Regions from separate parts of the Homo sapiens genome. Here all the other regions are linked to region 1. The links are contacts of gene promoters, found by promoter capture Hi-C in blood cells and fetal thymus (Javierre and others, 2016). All regions are on one chromosome and are shown on one strand. Each heading gives the region's core, a stretch centred on a gene start or on the middle of the fragment in contact. The rest is flanking DNA. Distances are from core to core; before and after follow the strand shown.

The links. Contacts are between HindIII fragments. The CHiCAGO score rates a contact against its expected background, and 5 or more counts as called.
Region 2: a contact is called between a fragment that was not itself captured here and the fragment with the promoter of GPR32 in region 1, in 9 of 17 cell types (total B cells, activated CD4 T cells, naive B cells and 6 more). The highest score is 17.3, in total B cells.
Region 3: a fragment that was not itself captured here is called in contact with the fragment with the promoter of GPR32 in region 1 in 1 of 17 cell types (naive B cells); the score reaches 5.2 in naive B cells.
Region 4: a fragment that was not itself captured here is called in contact with the fragment with the promoter of GPR32 in region 1 in 5 of 17 cell types (total B cells, naive B cells, total CD8 T cells and 2 more); the score reaches 10.5 in total B cells.
Region 5: a fragment that was not itself captured here is called in contact with the fragment with the promoter of GPR32 in region 1 in 8 of 17 cell types (naive CD8 T cells, naive CD4 T cells, non-activated CD4 T cells and 5 more); the score reaches 10.0 in naive CD8 T cells.
Region 6: the fragment with the promoter of POLD1 here is called in contact with the fragment with the promoter of GPR32 in region 1 in 7 of 17 cell types (total B cells, activated CD4 T cells, naive B cells and 4 more); the score reaches 8.5 in total B cells.
Region 7: a contact is called between a fragment that was not itself captured here and the fragment with the promoter of GPR32 in region 1, in 4 of 17 cell types (naive CD4 T cells, naive B cells, total B cells and 1 more). The highest score is 6.7, in naive CD4 T cells.

What each region holds. Positions count from the first base shown.
Region 1 is chr19:50,768,993-50,771,894 of GRCh38, forward strand. It overlaps GPR32 (G protein-coupled receptor 32), which reads left to right and starts at 1,472. Exons shown (of 1, transcript NM_001506.2): 1 at 1,472-2,740. The coding sequence starts at 1,609. The coding sequence ends at 2,679. The HindIII fragment of the contact is 17,473 bases long and covers 1-2,902 here.
Region 2 is chr19:50,259,265-50,262,166 of GRCh38, forward strand. MYH14 (myosin heavy chain 14) reads left to right here. Exons shown (of 43, transcript NM_001145809.2): 19 at 1; 20 at 1,382-1,451; 21 at 2,211-2,371. Among named protein-coding and RNA genes, the nearest start is that of MYH14, 57 kb to the left of the region's middle. The HindIII fragment of the contact is 3,099 bases long and covers 1-2,902 here.
Region 3 is chr19:50,283,589-50,286,490 of GRCh38, forward strand. It overlaps MYH14 (myosin heavy chain 14), which reads left to right. Exons shown (of 43, transcript NM_001145809.2): 34 at 2,894-2,902. Among named protein-coding and RNA genes, the nearest start is that of KCNC3, 44 kb to the right of the region's middle. The HindIII fragment of the contact is 2,770 bases long and covers 122-2,891 here.
Region 4 is chr19:50,317,994-50,320,895 of GRCh38, forward strand. KCNC3 (potassium voltage-gated channel subfamily C member 3) reads right to left here. Exons shown (of 5, transcript NM_004977.3): 3 at 2,600-2,791; 4 at 2,230-2,356. The coding sequence ends at 2,253. Among named protein-coding and RNA genes, the nearest start is that of KCNC3, 9.9 kb to the right of the region's middle. The HindIII fragment of the contact is 1,660 bases long and covers 640-2,299 here.
Region 5 is chr19:50,334,627-50,337,528 of GRCh38, forward strand. All of the region lies in intron 1 of LOC105372437 (a long non-coding RNA gene), which reads left to right. It also overlaps the pseudogene NAPSB. Among named protein-coding and RNA genes, the nearest start is that of KCNC3, 6.7 kb to the left of the region's middle. The HindIII fragment of the contact is 4,846 bases long and covers 1-2,902 here.
Region 6 is chr19:50,382,843-50,385,744 of GRCh38, forward strand. It overlaps POLD1 (DNA polymerase delta 1, catalytic subunit), which reads left to right and starts at 1,505. Exons shown (of 27, transcript NM_002691.4): 1 at 1,505-1,548. NR1H2 (nuclear receptor subfamily 1 group H member 2) reads left to right here. Exons shown (of 10, transcript NM_007121.7): 10 at 1-546. RefSeq lists silencers at 1,169-1,268, 1,279-1,398, 1,429-1,518 and an enhancer at 2,238-2,739. The HindIII fragment of the contact is 22,211 bases long and covers 1-2,902 here.
Region 7 is chr19:50,408,584-50,411,485 of GRCh38, forward strand. POLD1 (DNA polymerase delta 1, catalytic subunit) reads left to right here. Exons shown (of 27, transcript NM_002691.4): 15 at 202-318; 16 at 539-652; 17 at 936-1,083. Among named protein-coding and RNA genes, the nearest start is that of SPIB, 8.9 kb to the right of the region's middle. The HindIII fragment of the contact is 1,351 bases long and covers 822-2,172 here.

The DNA of each region.
Region 1 (2,902 bases), core at 222-2,721:
CCCAGGTTCAAGGGACTCTCCTGCCTCAGCCTTCAGAGTAGCTGGGATTACAGGCACGCACCACCAAGCCTGGCTAATTTTTGTATTTTTAGTAGAGACAGGCTTTTGCCATGTTGGCCAGGCTGGTCTCGAACTCCTGAACTTAAGTGATCCACCAGCCTCAGCCTCCCAAAGTGCTGGGATTACAGGAATGAGCCACTACGCCCATCTCACGGCTAATTTTTAAATTTTATTTTATTTTTATTTTTTTGAGACGGAGTTTCGCTCTCGTTACCCAGGCTGGAGTGCAGTGGCGCGATCTTGATTCACTGCAACCTCCGCCTCCCAAGTTTAAGTGATTCTTCAGCCTCATGAGTAGCTGGGATTACAGGTGGCTGCCACCACACCCAGCTAATGTTTTTTGTATTTTTAGTAGAGACGGGGTTTCGCCATGCTGGGCAGGCTGATCTCGAACTCCTGACCTCAGGTGATCCGCCTACCTCAGCCTCCCAAAGTGCTGGGATTACAGGCGTGAGCCACTGTGCATGGCCACAAAAACTTGTAATTATTTATTTTTTGTAGAGACGGTCTCACTATGTTGCCCACCTTGGTTTGGAACTCCTGGCTTCAAGCAATCCTTCTGCCTCAGCCTCCCAAAGTGTTGTGATTACAAGCATGAGCCACCACACCTGGCCCCTCCATTTCATTTATTATTTTTCCATAACACTTGTAGTCTTCTAAAGCAGTATATCATGAAGTAAATTTATTATATGTATTACACCTGACATCTCTCACTGGGATGTAAGTTCCATGAGGGCTTGTTTTGTTACACGAGTTATGTCCAGTACTTAGAACAATATTATAGTGTCCAGTGAGCCGAGATCGTGCCATTGCACTGCAGCCTGGGTGACATAAGGAGACTCTGTCTCAAAAAAAAAAAAAAAAAAAGAACAATATTATTGTGTCATAAAAAGCATTCAGGCTGGGCTCAATGGCTCACACTTGTAATCCCAGCACTTTGGGAGGCTGAGGTGGGAGGATCACTTGAAGCCAGGAGTTCAAGACCAGCCTGGGCAACACAGCAAAACCCCATCTCTACAAAAAAGAATTTAAGGCCTGGCAGAGTGGCTCACACCTATAATCCCAGCACTTTGGGAGGCTGGTGGACGGGTCACGAGGTCAGTAGTTCAAGACCAGCCTGGCCAACATGGTAAAACCCTGTCTCTACTAAAAACAGAAAAATTAGCCAGGTGTGGTGGCATGTGCCTGTAGTTCCAGCTACTTGGGAGGCTGAGGCAGGAAAATTGCTTGAACCTTGGAGGTGGAGGTTGCAGTGAGCCGAGATCATACCATTGCACTACAGCCTGGGTGACAGAGAGAGCAAGACTCTGTGTCAAAAAAAAAAAAAAAAAAAAAAGGTAAAAAAATTAGCCAGGCATGGTGGTAAGTGCCTGTAGTCCCAGCTACTCCAGGAGGCTGAGGGGGGAGGATCTCTTGAGCCTAGGAGGTGGAGGCTGCAGTGATCTGTGATTGTACCTTTGCACTCCAGCCTGGGTGACAGAGCATGACGCTGTCTCTAAAAGAATAATAATAATAAGCATTCCATAAAAATTATGGAATGGAGAAATCATGAATGGGGTCTCGGAGGGGACCAGAGGCTGCAGTGACAGGCAACCTGGGGTCCTGACACGTGATCGCTCTTGTTCCAGGAAGATGAACTCTTCCGGATGCCTGTCTGAGGAGGTGGGGTCCCTCCGCCCACTGACTGTGGTTATCCTGTCTGCGTCCATTGTCGTCGGAGTGCTGGGCAATGGGCTGGTGCTGTGGATGACTGTCTTCCGTATGGCACGCACGGTCTCCACCGTCTGCTTCTTCCACCTGGCCCTTGCCGATTTCATGCTCTCACTGTCTCTGCCCATTGCCATGTACTATATTGTCTCCAGGCAGTGGCTCCTCGGAGAGTGGGCCTGCAAACTCTACATCACCTTTGTGTTCCTCAGCTACTTTGCCAGTAACTGCCTCCTTGTCTTCATCTCTGTGGACCGTTGCATCTCTGTCCTCTACCCCGTCTGGGCCCTGAACCACCGCACTGTGCAGCGGGCGAGCTGGCTGGCCTTTGGGGTGTGGCTCCTGGCCGCCGCCTTGTGCTCTGCGCACCTGAAATTCCGGACAACCAGAAAATGGAATGGCTGTACGCACTGCTACTTGGCGTTCAACTCTGACAATGAGACTGCCCAGATTTGGATTGAAGGGGTCGTGGAGGGACACATTATAGGGACCATTGGCCACTTCCTGCTGGGCTTCCTGGGGCCCTTAGCAATCATAGGCACCTGCGCCCACCTCATCCGGGCCAAGCTCTTGCGGGAGGGCTGGGTCCATGCCAACCGGCCCAAGAGGCTGCTGCTGGTGCTGGTGAGCGCTTTCTTTATCTTCTGGTCCCCGTTTAACGTGGTGCTGTTGGTCCATCTGTGGCGACGGGTGATGCTCAAGGAAATCTACCACCCCCGGATGCTGCTCATCCTCCAGGCTAGCTTTGCCTTGGGCTGTGTCAACAGCAGCCTCAACCCCTTCCTCTACGTCTTCGTTGGCAGAGATTTCCAAGAAAAGTTTTTCCAGTCTTTGACTTCTGCCCTGGCGAGGGCGTTTGGAGAGGAGGAGTTTCTGTCATCCTGTCCCCGTGGCAACGCCCCCCGGGAATGATGGAAGACTTCAGCTGGAAGCTGGAAGCCGTCCTTCTTAGTTTGCTTGTGGCCTCTTACCTTGACTGGCTTCTAAAACCCTGCCAAATCCTGCCTCTTCTTTCAGGAAGTCTTCCAGCAACCCCTCATCTAAAGCTCTGTGGTAGAGACAGCTACTTACTCCCCAGTGTCCATTCTTCCCCGCCCCCCCCCCCTTTTTTTTTTGAGATAGAGTCTTGCTCTGT
Region 2 (2,902 bases), core at 113-2,612, 510 kb before region 1:
GGTGAGCTAGAGCGAGGGCCCAGGCCCGGCGGAGGGGCTGGGTGGGACCCGGGTCTGGAAGCCGACACACCTGCATTCAGGTCTCCACCCACTCTTGTTCCTTCTGCGCTGGGGAAGTTGAGGCAGATTACTCACTTTGCTGAGCCTCAGTTTACTCGTCTGTGTATGGGAGAACAATAGCCCACTTGATGCACTCCTGAGAGAAAGCACACAGAGTCTATGGGGATCTGGGGTACATTGCTGCTGCTGTTTAGGGCAGTAGGCCCCAAACTATGAACGTGAAATCACTGCATGGTGTTACAAATCTGCATGTCTTTAAAAATGAAGTAGAAGGCGGGGCGCGGTGGCTCACGCCTGTAATCCCAGCACTTTGGGAGGCCGAGGCAGACAGATCACCTGAGGTCGGAAGTTCGAGACCAGCCTGACCAACGTGGAGAAACCCCATCTCTACTAAAAATACAAAATTAGCCGGGTGTGGTAGCACATGCCTGTAATCCCAGCTACTCGGGAGGCTGAGGCAGGAGAATCACTTGAACCGGGAAGGGGGAGGTTGCAGTGAGCCGAGATTGCGCCATTGCACTCCAGCCTGGGCAACAAGAGCAAAACTCTGTCTCAAAAAAATAAATAAGTAAATAAAGAAGTAGAATAGGACAGAATAGAAAATACCAAGGCCTAATGAGCAAGTAATACAGCAAATGTAACAAAAATGATGCTTCACACAAGCTGTGTAGAGCAGCACCGTCCCTTAGAAGTAGAATGGGAAGCCTTGTACACAATTGAACATTTTCTAATAGCTACACTTTTACAAGTGAAAAAAATGAAATTAATTTTAACAAGATATTTTACTAAAGCCAATACATCCAAAATACTGGCCAATACTGGCTGGGCACTGTGGCTCATGCCTGTAACCCCAGCACTTTGGGAGGCCGAGGCGGGTGGATCACTTCAGGTCAGGAGTTCAAGACAGCCTGGCCATCATGGAGAAACCCCATCTCTACTAAAAATACAAAAATTAGCTGGGCATGGTGGCACATGCCTGAATCCCAGCTACCTGGTAGGCTGAGGCAAGAGAATCGCTTGAACCTGGGAGGCGGAGGTCGCAGTGAGGCAAGATCTGACCACTGCACTCCAGCCTGGGCGACAGAGCGAGACTCTGTCTCAAAAAACAAACAAAACAAAAAACTGAAACAGTCGATCATTGTCGATGTTGCTGTCCTTGGTGGTGGCGTGAATGCTCAGATGTGAGTTTTGTGACTGTCCTTGTTATTGTCACTGTTGTTCCTGCTGTGTGTCACTCTGAGCCCAGTGCCTGGCCCGCAGCAGGCACTAGGTGAGCGTTTGCTGTAACTCTCTCCTCCCCACCCCTCCCTGCTCATTGCAGATACGAGATCCTGACACCCAATGCCATCCCCAAGGGCTTCATGGATGGGAAGCAGGCCTGTGAAAAGATGGTGAGTGGGGCAGAGCCTGGAATGCGTGTGTGCGTGTGTGTGTGTGCGTGCATGAGTGTGCGTGCATGTGTGTGTGCATGCATATGTGTGCATGCGTGTGTGTGCAAGTGTGTGTGCATGCACGTGTGTGCGTGTGTGTGTGCATGCATATGTGTGCATGCGTGTGTGTGCATGTGTGTGTGTGCATGCGTTTGTGTGCAGGGGCCCAGGTGGTCGGGGAGTGGGGCTGGGATCTCCCCTTCATTGACCTTCCTCATTACCTCTCCCTATCACCGCCCCCACCCCCGCTTCCTCATCATCCCCTATCACCCCCCTCCCCGTCACCCCATCACCCCCTCCCCATCACCACTCCCCCATCGCCCCCTCCCTATAACTCTTCTCCCCTATCACCCTCCTCCACATCACCCCCTCCCCCATCACCCCCTCTCCCCAATCACCACCCCCTCCCAATCACTGCCCCTCCTCACCACCCCCCCATCATCCCCTGCCCCATCACCCCCTTCCTATAACTCCCCTCCCCTATCACTCTTCACATCACCCCCTCCCCTATCACTCTCCTCATCACCCCCTCCCCATCACTTCTCCCCCATCACCTCCCTCCCCCATCACCCCCTCCCCCATTACCCCCTCTCCCCAATCACCACCCCTTCCCTATCACTCCCCCTCCTCGCCACCCCCTCCCCCATTACTCCCCCTCCTCACCACCCCCACTCCCCCATCACCCCCTCTCCGTCATCACCCCTCTCCCACCCCTCACAGATCCAGGCGCTGGAACTGGACCCCAACCTCTACCGCGTGGGACAGAGCAAGATCTTCTTCCGGGCTGGGGTCCTGGCCCAGCTGGAAGAGGAGCGAGACCTGAAGGTCACCGACATCATCGTCTCCTTCCAGGCAGCTGCCCGGGGATACCTGGCTCGCAGGTGGGCAGCCACGCTGTCTCCCGGGGTCCTGTTGGCCGAGACTGGGTCAGGGAGGGGTTGACCAGATGGCTCTAGGTGTCAGGGCCTCCAGGATGGGTGCAGGGCTGAGGAGCAGGTGGATGGAGGTGCCGGGTGTCCAGGCTTCTTGGTTCTGCAGTCCCTGAGGGGCCCTGTGGGCAGGGCAGGCCCTGTTCAGAGTAAGACTGGCAACACAGAGGCTGGACTTAGCCGCAGGGTGACCAGCTGTCCTAGTGGGCCTGGGTCTGGGTTTCCCAGGGTGCAGGACTTCCAGTGCTAAAACAGAGAAAGCCCGGGGCAACCCAGGTCAAGCTGTCCGCTCTCCCTGGCCAGTCCCTCGAGGGGCTCCAGTCTGGAGGTGAGACTTCCATGGGCATAGAGTCCCAGTCCCGGGTGAGACCTGCTTTGATGGGGGCCATAGAGGTGCAGCAAGGAGGCCCTGCTGCAGGCCATGACTCCCCCAGGCCACACCGGACAAGCAGGTGGATGAAGGAAAATGGGAAAGGTGATCAG
Region 3 (2,902 bases), core at 257-2,756, 490 kb before region 1:
TAGTTATGGATAAAACCTTAGTCTTTCTCAAAGGTGGTTTTAATTAACATTTCCCTAATGACCAGTGACGTTGAGCATCTTTTCATATGCTTATTTGCCATCCATATATCTTATTTGCTGAAGCTTCTGTTCAGATCTTTTGCCTATTTGTTAATTAATGTTGTTTGTTTTACTATTATTGAATTTTGAAAATTCTTTATGGGCCGGGCACGGTGGCTCATGCCTGGTAATCCCAGCACTTTGGGAGGCCAAGGCAGGCAGATCACCTGAGGTTGGGAGTTTGAGACCAGCCTGACCAACATGGAGAAACCCCGTCTCTACTAAAAATACAAAATTAGGTAGGCATGGTGGTGCATGCCTGTAATCCCAGCTACTTGGGAGGCTGAGGCAGGAGAATCGCTTGAATCTGGGAGGCGGAGGTTGTGGTGAGCCGAGATCATGCCATTGCACTCCAGCCTGGGCAACAAGAGTGAAACTCTGTCTCAAAAAAACAAAACAAAAAACAAAAAAAAAACAAAAAAAAAGAAAGAAGTTATTTATGTATTCTAAATGCAAGTTCTTTATCAGATATATGCTTTGCAAATATTTTTGTCCAGTCTGTGGCTTTTCTTTCCATTCTGTTAGAGTCTTTCAAAGAACAGAAGTTTTTAATTTTGTCCAATTTATCAATTTGTTGTTTTATAGATTGTGCTTTTAGTATTGTATATAAGAAATTTTTGCCTAACTCAAGGTCACAAAGGTTTTATCCTGGTTTTTTTCTTGTTTTCTTTTTGTTTGTTTGTTTGTTTTGTTTTTTGAGACGGAGTCTTGCACTGTTGCCCGGGCTGGAGTGCAGTGGCATGATCTTGGCTTACTGCAACCTCTGCCTCCTGGGGTCAAGCGATTCCTCCTGTCTCAGCCTACCAAGTAGCTGGGATTACAGGCACATGCCGCCACACCCGGCTAATTTTTTTATTTTTATTTTTTTTTTATTTTTTATTTTTAGTAAAGACAGGGTTTCACTATGTTGGCCAGGCTAGTCTCAAACTCCTGACCTTGTGATCCACCTGCCTCGGCCTCCCAAAGCACTGGGATTACAGGCATGAGCCACTGCACCCGGCCTATCCTGTTTTTTTTTTCTGGAAGTCTTCCAGTTTCAAGTTTACATTTAGGTCTGTGATTTATTCTGAGTTAATTTTTACATATGATGCTATCATGGCTCCATGTTAATTTTTGTGAATATAAATATCCAAGTATTCCAACACTGCTCTCCACTGACTTGTTTTTGCATATCTATTGAAAGTCATTTTTCTTCTTCTTCTTCTCCTCCTTCTTTTTCTTCTTCTTCTTCTTTTTTTTTTTTTTTTTGCCCAGGCTGGAGTGCAGTGGCGTGATCTTGGCTTGCTGCAACTTCTGCTTCCCGGGTTCAAGCAATTCTCCCACCTCAGCCTCCCGAGTGGCTTGGATTACAGGTGTGCGCCACCACACCTGGCTAATTTTTGTATTTTTAGTAGAGATGGGGTTTCACCATGTTGGCCAGGTGGTCTTGAACTCCTGACTTCAGGCGATCTGCCTGCCTCAGCCTCCCAATATGCTGGAATTACAAGCATAAGCCACTGCACCAGCCTTTTCTTCTTATTTGAAGTTATTTTGCCTCTTCTAGTTCCTTTGCATTTCCGTATGTATTTTAGAATCAGTTTGTCAATTTCTACCCCAAAACAAAAAGCCTTCCAATTTGGAACTGTGTTGAATCTATACAACGGTTTTGGAAGAACTGACATCATAACAATATTGAGTTTTCTCACCGAGGAAGAGGGTATATACGTCCATTGAAATACCTTAGAAATGTTTTTTAGTTTTCAATGTACATCTTTCACATCTGCTGCCAGATGTATTTCTAAGTATTTCATGGTTTTATGGCTATTTTAAGTGATGTTGCTTTCATTTCCATTTTTGATTGCTAGTATATAGAAACAATAGATTTTTGTATATTGATCTTGTATCCTACAATCTTGGCTAAACTCACTTACTAGTGCTAATATAGTTTTTATATATTTCATTGGATTTTCTACATAGATGATCATGTTTTCTGTGAACAAAGGCAGTTTTACTTCTTTCTTTACCTTTTCTTTACCCTTCTAGGACTCCAAATGCTTGTATGTATGACTGCTTGGTACTTTTTTCAGGTTGTTAAAGTTCCATTAATTTCTGTTACAATCTTCTTTCTTTTTCTTTCTTTGCTCTGTTTGGATAATTTATATTGACCTGCTTTCAAGTTTACTGATTCTCCTGATGTGTCCAGTCTGCTACTAATTTCATCCAGTGACTTTTTTATTTCAGATATTTCATTTTTCAGTTCTGGCATTTCTATGTGGTTCTATTTTACAGTTTCAAATCCCTCCTCAAATAACTGCCTCTTCACCCATTGTATCTGTCTCGTTCTGAAACTTATCATGAAGTCCTTGTGTGCACGTTCTAATATGTAGGTCATCTGTGGGTCTATTTGTATGGACTGATTTTTCTCTTAACTATGAGTTCTGTTCTCTTTTCTTTTTTGCATGTTTTATAAGTTTATTTGCCAATTACTGTGTCTTAAAAAAAAACAGTAAAGGTTGAAGTACATTTAAAAATATATATATGTGTATTTTTTCTACTGCCACTCTTAAGAGGAAGGAATGCCCTTTCTTCTGTTGAACATATAGAGTTAGGGACTGATCAGTTTGATCCATTCAAGAGTTAAGCTGGTTTGGGACACGGTTGCAACTTTAATCCCTCTACCTCCCTCTTGTGTCTCTGCCTTTGTCTGTCTCTTTCTCTCTCTTTCTCTGTTCCTGGCTGCTCCCTCTTCCCGTTCCCTTGTACACTCCTTTCAGCTAATCTATTTCCCCCTACCCCATCTCCCTCAAACTGGAAGCTTCTGGCA
Region 4 (2,902 bases), core at 220-2,719, 450 kb before region 1:
TGTTGCCCAGGCTGGTCTCAAATTTCTAGGCTCAAATGATACTCCCACCTTGGCCTCCCAAAGTGCTGGGGTTATAGGCGGCAGCCACTGTGCCCAGCCAGACCTCTTTAACTGAAGTGGCCAGAGTAATAGTCTTGTTCTTTTATCTTTATCTTAATTGCTTCTTTTCTTCTTCTTCTTCTTCTTCTTTTTTTTGAGAGGGAGTCTCACTCTATTTGTAGCCCAGGCTGGAGTGCAGTGGTGTGATCTTGGCTCACTGCAACCTCCACCTCCCGGGTTCAAGTGATTCTCCTACCCCAGCCTCCCAAGTAGCTGGGACTACAGGTGCCCACCACCACGCATGGCTAATTTTTGTATTTTTAGTAGAGATGGGGTTTCACCATGTTGGCCAGGCTGGTCTCGAACTCCTGACCTCAAGTGATCCACTGTCCTCGGCCTCCCAAAGTGCTGGGATTACAGATGTGAGCCACCCCCGCCGCCCAGCCTTAATTGCTTATTTTCTGCTTCTTCCTATGAGCGGCTGGAAACTTTTCCTGTAAAAGGCCAGATAGTAAATCTCTTTGGCTATAGGGGCTGTATAGTCTTTGTCCCAATTATTCCACTCTGCTGTCGTGGCTTAACATGGTTGTGTTCCAATAAAGCTTTGTTTACAAAAACAGATGCTGAAAGATCAGGCCCTCAGGCTGGAGTTAGTTTGCGGACCCCTTACAATCTGGAGACTGTAAACCGTGATGGCAGATTCACGCTTTGTTTTATCCCAAATTTGTAGTGCCTGCAACTGTGTTCTCAAGAATCAGTTGTGGCCATGGGTGGTGGCTCATGCCTGTAATCTTAGCACTTCGGGAGGCCAAGGCAGGAGGACTGCTTGAGCCCAGGAGTTCAAGACCAACCTGGCCAACATAGCGAGACCCCAACACTTGAATCCAGGAGGCGGAGGTTGCAGTGAGCCGAGATTGCACCATTGCACTCCAGCCCAGGTGACATAGCAAGACAGTCTCAAAAAAAAAAAAAAAAAAAAAAAGAATCAGTTGCTGAAACAGTGAATGAATGGATTGAATACATGAATGAAAGGAGCTAGGAGTTGGCTTGGATTGTTACAAGGATTAAAGAATATATGTTAAATTCCTAGCATGTGGTAGGTACTTGGTGATATTTGCTGAATGATTCGTCTACTAAATAGCACCACTGTCTTATCCCCCTCACTTCTGCATGGCCGGCAGCCCCCAGTCTGTCCCTTCTGATCCCTGACCCCGACTCTCTCGGCCTCGTCCCTTCCTCTCCATCCTCACAGCCCTGGCCCCAGCTCACGCTTCCACCTGTCACCTCAGCCTCCTAACTTCCAGCCTCCCACCTCCAGTCCATCCTCACAAGACCCCAGAGCTGCCCCTCCCAGCTCACCTGCCTCCTCCCCAAGCCCCTAGACAAGGTGGCAGCCTCTCAGCCCGGTGCCTGCCTCATATCTACCTGAGAATCCTCCCTCCACAGTCTAGTCTCCTAAGCTCTGTCCTGCGGTTCCCTTCAACCGTTCCTGTCGATGGGATTTCTTCCTCTGCGTGTGGTCAGAACTCCTGCTCAACCTTAAGGCCCCACTGCAGATATCGAGTCTTCCCTGATGCCCGGCCCCATCCCCTGGGAGTTTCTAGTGTTCCTCTCACTGTCTGTGCTCCCTCCATTTTAGCATACATCGCCTCAAACCATGACTTTCTAGGTCCGTGTCTGCCTCCTGCTCCAAAGCGGAAGCTCCTGGGGGCATGGTTTTTGTTCACGGTTGAACTCCCCATGCCCAGTACCTGGGATGCGTGGGTGCTGTCTAAGCGCTGGCTGAATTCACAGGGGCATGGACGGATGGCTGAGCCTTTCTCTCCCCATTCTGCACCCAGAAGTGTTCTGGGTATGCCCTCCGTTTTCCTGATTGAATTTTTAAAAAAAACCCTAGGACCAAGGAGGGAGGCAGAGATGTTGATGGGGGTGAGGATGGGGTCGGTCGTGAGGGCAGGTGCAGTGTGGGAGGCAGGGTTGAGTTAGTTCGGGGGTTAGTGAGGAGCAGGGTGAGTCCTGGGTAGGTGGGTGTGGGGTCAGTGTCAGGAGCTGGGGGTTAACTGGGTGCAGCTGCTTGCAGTGAGGGGGCCGAAGTCTCGGTCAGTGGGGGCTGCATGTTCTCAGAAGGGTTAGTCAGGCAGGAGTGGGGAGTCTGGGGGTCCGGGGGATCAGAGGGTGGGGGCTACTTACCCCGGGGGGAGGGGGTTCGTCCACTAGGGGGATATCCAGGCCGCGGCGTTGGCGTTGAGGTCGGGCAAGAAGCTTGGGGGGCCTGGCTTACGCCAGTCTTGGGGGGGCAGTGGGGGAGCACCAGTGGCTGGGGGTGGGGGAAGAGGCCAGAGAGTTGGGGGGAATGGACATGGAATAAAGACAGGTGAAGGGTCAGTGGTGAGGAAACTTGGGGCGGGGGTACAGGGAAGATCTGGGAGGGAGGCAGTTTGGGGCCAAGGGAAGGGGGAAGGGAAGTCCACCGCCTCCTCCCCCATCCCCCTCTCCTCCCTCCCCTGGGCAGGGGAGAGAGAGGGAGGGTCCCAGGGGATCAGTAGGGGGGGCACCTCACCTTTTCGGATGGAGCCATCAGGGGAAGGGGCATAGTCGGTGAGGAGGAAGCAGGCTCGGTCCCGGCTATAGCGGCCACGGCTTCCAGGCGTGATGGGGCTCTTGTCTTCCGGGGACATGGCAGGCTGGTCAATGGCTGGGCAGTCCTCGTGGGCAAGCGCAGCTGCTGCCGGATCCCCATTGGGGCGAGGATCTGCATCCCAAGGGGGTCAGACAGAGAGACAAAGGAGAGAGTGAGGTGCGGTGAACACGCGGTGGGGCAAGATGTCTGCGAGGAGCAGATGCTGGGATGGTCGGCGGATGT
Region 5 (2,902 bases), core at 295-2,794, 430 kb before region 1:
CATCCACTGAGCCACTTAGCATAGACACTTGGGAAGTATCTTTGCTTCCTCCCACCACTCTCTGGCATGTCACTTAAGAAGCCCAGTCCCCTCTGTCCTGGATACGCTCTAGCTACCTGCTTCCCATCCTCAGGCCGCAGTGTTCGCCATGGAATTGCCATCATCTTCCCCAGGACACACCCACCAGAGACTGGGACCTCACCTCCCCAGCCAGCAAGGGGATTCCCCCAATGGCTGCATGCAGGGCCCGGATCTCCTCAGTGGGTCCTACGATGACAGGTGTGCCTGTATCCAGGATGGCAGCACAGCCCTGGGCACAGAGAGTCAGCCGTGAGCCCACCTTCACACTGAGGGGGAAGGAAGCAGTCATTAGAGGCAGGGTCCTAGGAGTCCAGGCCTCCAGCTCCAGACCCAGGAGACCAAGTCCCTCACCGCTCCATGTGGATCTGCCAGTAGGCGGGGACTGTGACTGGCACGAAGGTGAGGGGTGGGATGTAGTGTGCCGGGTCTGAGCCCCCCAGGACCAGCTCTCCTCCATCAGCCACTTCAGGGTCCCTGCAGGGGCAGAGTGTAGAGGTCATTGTCGCCAGCCCTCCCCCGCCAGCCCTAGGAATGGCCAGGGATGGGACTTCCTGCCAATTGGGTCATTTTTGGGGTTCTAGTTGGGGCAGTGGAATGCAGGCAGGGCCGAGATGTTGGGACTGGAAACAAGAAATGAAGGGAAATGGTGCTTTTCTTGATGGAAGTTAGGACTTTAGGATGATGGATACTTCCTGAAGTGGAGAGGAGACTTCTTCATTTGGCTGTGGAAGGTAGAGCTTTTGGGGGAAATTCCTGAGCTGAATATCATAGTAACCAAGCAGACCAGTGGAGTCTCAGAATTGGCTCGAAGGTGTGACTTGTACAGGAGTGGGGTGGCTTCCTGGGAAGGTGCATAGACTTTCTGAATTGCCTGTTGTGGTATCTAGAAAGGTGTTAGACTTCCTGAGCTGGCTGAGAGTGATGGGAACGGGGATGGAAACTTCCTGGAAGATGTAAATGAGTGGGACCTACCGAGAGCTAGGTGGAACTTCTTGAGTGGGTTGGATGTCAGGGTAACTGAGTGGGCATTGGACTGTGTGTGATGGGCCCTGGGAGGGAAAGTGAAGACTTCTCGGGTGGTGGGTGGGACTTCTGAGCATAAGATTGACCTTCCTACCAGGTGGGTGGGGCTTCGTGAATTCAATCAGGCATTTCCTGACTTCTGGTCAGTGTTCTCAAATGGGATTTGAGCTTTATGGTGAAGAGAAGGTTCCTGAGTATTTGGTTGGGTGGGGCATAGAATTTCCTAGTTTGATTTTGAAACTCAGCATATTGAACTGTTGGTGAGTTTCTTTAATATGTCTTAAGTTGTCACTTAAGCTCTGGGGCTTATGAATAGGGTTGAGGTGTTTCTTCTGTTAGGTAGGTGGCTACTTCCTGAATGAAGGGTGGGATTGATTTTTTTTTTTTTTTTTTTTTTTTGGAGACGGTCTCTCTCTGTCACCCAGACTGGAGAGCAGTGGTGCGATCTCGGCTCACTGCAACCTCCACCTCCCGGATTCAAGCAATTCTCCTGCCTCAGCCTCTCAAGTAGCTGGGATTACAGGCATGTGCCACCGCACCCAGCTAATTTTTATAGTTTTAGTACAGATGGGGTTTCACCATGTTAGCCAGGCTGGTCTGGAACTCTTGACTTCAGGTGATCAATCTGCCTCAGCCTCCCAAATTGCTGGGATTACGGGCATGAGCCACCGTGCCTGAACTGGGACTTTCTTTATGGAGTAAGAGACTTCCTGAAGGAGGGCCTCACTTCCTTCTGAGGAATAGGACTCATAGATAGGTGCACCCTCCCCAGCACCTGTTGAAGTAAAAGGAGAAGACAGGCTTATCCAATAGCCCCTGCTCCACCAGTACATCCAGCGGGGGCCGAACTCCTTCCACAGACAGAATGGGAAAACCGAGGCCCAATATCCCATCGGGGCGGGAAACAGTGAAGACCAGGCTGGATTCCCACAGAGCTTCCCCGAAAATCACGGATGCACCCTTGATTCCACCAATCTAGGGGTAGATTGAGATGTGACCAGTTACTTTTGGGAGGACAATAACCACATGTCCTGAGGTCTCCCAAACCAAAGCATTAATCCCAGGTCTGGGGACATCTGGACCCAAGCCCCCAACTGCTTAGCAAACTTTGCCTCTGGACTTGAGAGAATTCCTATCCCTTCACCCAGGAACCCCTCCCCCTCCTTGAGAAGCCCCATCCATCGGCTCAGGAAGCCCCTGCACCTCAAGCCCCTCCCTAAGCCAGATGATCTTAGACAACAGGGTTCTCCCAGGCTCGAGGCTTCCTGGAGTCAAAGGCCACTCACAGTCAGCTTGTCCTCACTCAGGATTCCATCTACCCGCCCAGTTCCATACTGAATGGCAAACTTGGTCCCACTGGGCTTGAAGGAGCTGGAGGCATTGGGATTGAAGCGGTGGTGGAACCCTAGGTCAGAAGTCAGAGAGGTGTCACTGTGGGAGGGGAGCTTTCCGAATGCCTTCTGCCCCTTTAACCTTCTGACCTTTGAGGGTGTCAGAAAAGAACAGTTCCTCAAAAACCTTTGGGAAGCTGAGGCCCAGCCCCGCCTTCTCCCTTCACCCCCATTCAGCCTTATTCTCCCACATAGAAGCTCACAGCAGGGCACACTGAAGAAGTGGCATCTCCTGGACGGGACCCAGAGATTGGAGGAGCCAGTGTCAAAGGCAACAGTGAAGTTTTGTGGAGGCGTTCCCAGCCCAATTTCCCCAAAATACTGGGCCTGAGGAGGCAAAAGAAGAGACAGAGTCAATGAAGAGTTTGGCTCAAGGGCACAGGAGTGGGGGCTGTGTAGGGCTGTGA
Region 6 (2,902 bases), core at 255-2,754, 390 kb before region 1:
TCCCCAGCTTACACCTCAAGCCCAGCACGCAGTGCACCTTGAACAGAGGGAGGGGAGGACCCATGGCTCTCCCCCCTAGCCCGGGAGACCAGGGCCTTCCTCTTCCTCTGCTTTTATTTAATAAAAACTAAAAACAGAAACAGGAAAATAAAATATGAATACAATCCAGCCCGGAGCTGGAGTGCAAGATGGAGAGGGCGCGGGCTTCTAGGGACCTCAGTGACACTGGGTGCCCGAACCTGATTGAGCAGGTGGGACTGGGTGTCCCCAGGCTGTTGGGAAAAGGGTGGCACATAGGGTCCCAGTGTTGGGTGGTGTGTCGCCTGCTGTGAAAGTTCAGGACAGAGGCCTCAGCCTCAGGGTCACCTCCCTGGACAAGGTGAATCAGAACTCACCCTTGAAGGATAAACAGGATTTAAGTGAATGAGGGGACCTGGACTTCTGTCCGAACAACAAGTGTTTGCTGAGGCCTCCTGTGGGCCAGGCACTGGGTTGGCCATTCTAGAGATGGAGACATTCACCCAATAAATGTTTCCAGAGCATTAACTACAGTTAGGCACAATTCTAGGCACTGGAAACATCTGTGAACAAGATAACCATCCTCCTACCAAGACTCGGGGGATAGGGACTTTAATGAGCGTGGCACTGTGGTGGGGCTAGAGGAAATCAGGGAAGGTATCACAACAGAGGCAATCGCTGGGACCTAAAACAAGAGCCTGGGGGCTGGGCCTCCAAGTTGAGGGAACAGCACGTGCAAAGTTTGAAAGGAGAGACGCCAGGAGTTCGGAGCGAAGCGACGAAGTTCCTCCAATCCTTCCTGCCCCTGTGCCAGCCCTGAAGGAGCTGAATGAGCAATTCCAATCGAGGGCGAAAGGGGGGTTGGATGGAGGGATGCAACTTAAAGGTGTATTTATTTGGGGCGGGGAACAGCGGAAGTGAGAGTAGTTACCAATGATCACCTTATCCTAAGAGTAGTGTACCGGGCGCCCCACAAGTGTCCCTATCATGCGTTGTTGAGTCTAATTTACGTATAGGGAAACTGAAGCTAGGATGAAGGAGAACAGATCAAGCCAGGACTCTACCGCTTATCGGCCAGCCTCTGCGGGGATCTTGGGCGTCAGGTCACCAGCTGGCTGCTGGGCAGCGACGGGGCAGCGCTCCCTACACGGCCCCGGGCGAGAGGCGGGCGGGGGGACGCGGAGGATGCGCGCGCAACACCCGAGGGTGGGAGGAGAGAGAACAGAACCGCGGCGCGCCCAGACCGCACGAGGTCGTGAAGGTAGCCGCGCGGAGGGGCGTGGCTTCGGGCAGACAGGTCATGGGGAGGCGGAGTTAAGGGAATTTTTCAGCAAGGGGGCGAGGCCACTTCGGAAGCTGAGAGAGGGGGCGGGGCCTGCCCTGCAGTCGAACAAGCGGGGCGTGGCCTTGCCCGCACTTGGGCAGGCGGGGGCGTGGCCCGTCTCTGAGCGCCGCGGCTCTGGGCTTGCGCGCGCGGGAGTCAGGGGTCACGGCGGCGTAGGCTGTGGCGGGAAACGCTGTTTGAAGCGGGTGAGTAGAGGGGAAAAAGGGAGTTCGGGGCAGTGGGCCTGGTAGGGAACGGGGCTTGAGCAGCCAGGCACATAGATCTGAGAGACGGTTGCGAGGGCACCCTTTGGCCCGGGGGCGCGCAGGAGAGGGCAGGGGCCAGGGGTTTCCTGGGCGAGGGCGCGGGGACGAGCAGGAAAAGGCCGGGGTGGGGGTGGAATTCCTCGGCGGGCAGGGGGCGCATGCGCCGGGCACCGTGGGGCGGGACGTGGCCCGGGAGGAGCTGGGGGGACTGGGTGGTGCACGTGCGGGCTTGGTGTCATCCTGGATTCGCTGGGTGTTTGAGTACTCTGTGCCAGGCACTTTTCTGGAAGCAGGAACAAGTCAGAGAAGTCCCTGTCTCGGGAAGACAGACGGTAGACAAGTGATGAGTTTTAATAGATCAGTAAAGCAGTGCTCTGGGGCTGTGAGATGCTCTCAGAAGGAAACTAACGCAGGGTAACGTGATAATGAGCGAAGAGCCTGTTGCTTTAGCTGGAGTGGTCCAGAATCGACCGCTCTGGGACCCTCAAGTGCAAAGCCCTGAGGTGGAAGGAGCTTGGCGTATTTGTAGCAGGAGCCGAGGGGACGAGAGAAACACAGATGAGGTCGGAGTCATGATGGGGAACTAGATCCTATAGGGCCTTGTAAAACTTGGTATGGAATTTCTCCTTTATTCTAGGTTCAGCGGGGAGCCGTGGGAGGGTTTGAGCGTGGAAACAACACGATTCGCCCCATGTTTTGAAAAACTCACCACTGAGTGGAAATTGGATTGTAGCAGGAATAAGAATGGAAGGAGGGAGATCTGTTAGGAGGGAGAGCGTCCTGCAGGCAGAGAATCAGGCTCCGGTTACCTTTGCGGGCGGAGACAGGGGGACTGGCTGATGGACTGGGCGTAGGAGCAAGGGGAAGAGTCCAGGATGACTCCTGGGTTTGTGGTTTGAGCAGCAGGCTGGATGGGGAAGGCTAAGGGAGAAGCAGGTTGGGGTTGCCGCTCTGAAGGCAAAGATTAGTGGGGGAGTGAGTGGGCAGGGTTTAGAGCGGAGCCAGGAGTGGGCAGGGCGATGTCAGTGCCTCGCCTCAGCCCTTCCACTGAAGGAACTTGTTGCCACTGTCTTCTCTTTTTTTTTTTTTTTTTTTTGAGACAGAGTCTTGCTCTGTCACCCAGGCTGGAATGCAGTGGTGCAAACTCAGCTCATTGCAACCTCCGCCTCCCGAGTTCAGGCGAGTCTCGTGCCTCAGCCTCCTGAGTAGCTGGGATTACGGCACCCACTGCCATGCCCAGCTCATTTTTTGTATTTTTAGTAGAGATGGGGTTTCGCCGTGTTGGCCAGGCTGG
Region 7 (2,902 bases), core at 247-2,746, 360 kb before region 1:
TGTTGCCCAGGCTGATCTGAAACTCCTGAGTTCAAGCGATCCTCCTGCCTCAGCCTCCCAATGTGCTGGGATTGCAGGAGCGAGCACTGCTCCCAGCCAATGAATGATTTTTTTTTTTTAAAGGGTGAGGCCACAAGACAGGGCGGGGGCGGCATGGGAACTCCTAGCCCTGACTCCCGGCCGCGGCTGCTCCCCTCCCAGGTACTACGACGTCCCCATCGCCACCCTGGACTTCTCCTCGCTGTACCCGTCCATCATGATGGCCCACAACCTGTGTTACACCACGCTCCTTCGGCCCGGGACTGCACAGAAACTGGGGTATAGTGCCCAATTCAGCATGTGTCCCCCGAGGCCCATCTGGGCCTTCCCTTGGGGGGCTCAGTCTGGTGGGGGGCATAGGCACAGGCCCAGAGATAGTAGGGAGTGGAGGGGTGCTTGAGGGGCCTGCGTGTGCTCATGGCCAAGGCCAGGACCGTAGGGCAGAGGTGGGCTGGAGCAGGAGGGTGGCCGGCAGTCACCCCAACATCTTCCAACCCAGCCTGACTGAGGATCAGTTCATCAGGACCCCCACCGGGGACGAGTTTGTGAAGACCTCAGTGCGGAAGGGGCTGCTGCCCCAGATCCTGGAGAACCTGCTCAGTGCCCGGAAGAGGTGAGCCCTGGAGATCGCCTGCTTGGAGCTCAGACCTGTTGGGGCCTCTGGGCAATCCCTGTCCCTCACTGGGACACCCCAGGGCTGCCCAGCCACCCTGCCCTCAGCTGTGCGTGAATTAGCACAAGGCATCCCCTCCTGGCAGCTTCCTTTTGCCCCCTTGGCCAGAAGCTTCTGTGCAGTGCACAGTACGCCCAACCGTACATGGCACTCACTTCCAGAAAGGAGCCCTGACCAATGCCCAGGTGCCGCCTGAGTGTGCTTTCCCCGTGTTCCCTCGCAGGGCCAAGGCCGAGCTGGCCAAGGAGACAGACCCCCTCCGGCGCCAGGTCCTGGATGGACGGCAGCTGGCGCTGAAGGTGAGCGCCAACTCCGTATACGGCTTCACTGGCGCCCAGGTGGGCAAGTTGCCGTGCCTGGAGATCTCACAGGTGGGCACTCGGGCCCCTGGAAGGCAACTGGGGGCAGGTGGGCCCCCTGTGTAGGAGACCAGGGCTCCATGTGGGGGACCTGTATCCAGAGGACTGGGCACCCCAACTCACTGGCCTTCTAGAGAGAGGATGCCAATGTGGCTTGAGCAATTGGTCCATTCCTTCACTCAGCAAATGCCTACTGAGCACACACTGTGGTCAGGGCTCACTCTGTGCCCTGGGGATACAGAGGGGAACAAAATGGATGAGAGCTCCTGTCCCTGTCATCTTGCAGCCCAGTGGGGACACTGACAGGTCTGTGTAAACGTGTTTAGGACACAAGTGGCGCTACGAGCTTTGCAGCCGGATAAAGCAGGAGGTGCGGACTGTCGGGGAGTGATGGGGCTGGGCGGGACTCACCCCTCTCAATAGGCGACGCTCACACAGAGGCCAAGGGACGTGGGGAGGGAAGCCATTCACCGTCCCCACGGCAGCGTCCCGGTCTGCCTACCCACGGCAGCTCTGCTGCTTGAACAGAAAAACAGATTCTTTGAAACCACAGAGGGCCTGAGTTTCCGAGATTGCCAAGCTGGGGTCAGTGCCCCAGCTCCTGGCATATGAGGGCCTCGGAAGGGTCTTCCTGTCCAGCCTTCTCCCCTGGGACTTGAGTCTTGGCCCATTCCAGGCCAGTAGTTGTGCTGCTCTGCTTGGTTACCTCTAGCCACGGGGAGCTCCCTCTCTGGCTGGGCACTGCGCCACTTTTCACAGGGCTCTGGGTGGAAGGCTTGGATGAATTCTCAGTGGGTGGGGCCTTTGCACACACCCACCCACCCGCAGTTCTGGGGGTCCCAAAGACCACTTAGGTTCAGTGATTCACTAGAAGTACTCAGAGAGCAGAAAAGCTGGTTCTCATGGTTATGATTTAATACAGCAAAAGGACACAGATTAAACTCAGCAAAAGAAAGAGGTGCACAGGGCAGGGTATAGGAGGGACCAGGCGTGTCTTCCAGTTGTGCTCTCCCAGTAGAGTTGCCAGGCTGGCCCTCCTTCCTCCCAGTTTTGATGCGTGCCTGCACACATGCAGCATTGCCAACCAGAGGCTCTCACCCAAGCTTTGGGGTCCAGGGTTTTTCTTGGGTGTCAGTCCTATAGGCATGGAGCACCCTGTGACTGGCCTTAGTGACTCCATCATCCCCAGGCCCCTCAGCAACCCCCAGAGGTCAAACTGATACTGCATGGCCCAGGGCCCTACCATAAACCATGTTAGTGTCAACTACCTGGTGTGGTTCAAAGTCCCAGGTACACAAACACCTTTTTTTTTTTTTTTTTTGAGACAGAGTCTCACTCTCTCACCCAGGCTGGAGCGCAGTGGCACAATCGTGGCTCACTGCAGCCTCAACCTCCGGGACTCAGGTGAGCCTCCCACGTTAGCCTCCCAAGTGGCTGGGACTGCGGGCACGTGCCACCTATTTTTGTTATTTTTTGTAGAGATAGGGTCTCGCCATGTTGCCCAGGCTGGAACAGAGACACTGTTATCAGGCGGGATATTCTAGGGGCTTAGACTACCAGGAGCCAGGCAAGAGCCAGACCTTTCTTTGCACAAAGTGAATCGCTCACTGCATGCTCCCAACTCCCCTCTGCCTTTCACAGTCCCCGGCTGCCTCCCCAGCCTCCTTGGTGGAAAGGGGTGGCTGTGTGGACATCAGGCTCTAGCCCTGAAGCAGAGGCCAGGCCAAGAGAGCACAGCTTGGCCCTCCCCTGGGGCTGCCTCTTACCAATCCTGTGTCTCTGTCTTTTCTCTCTCAGCCGCTTCCCTCTGTCACTGTTCTGTTTCTGTCTC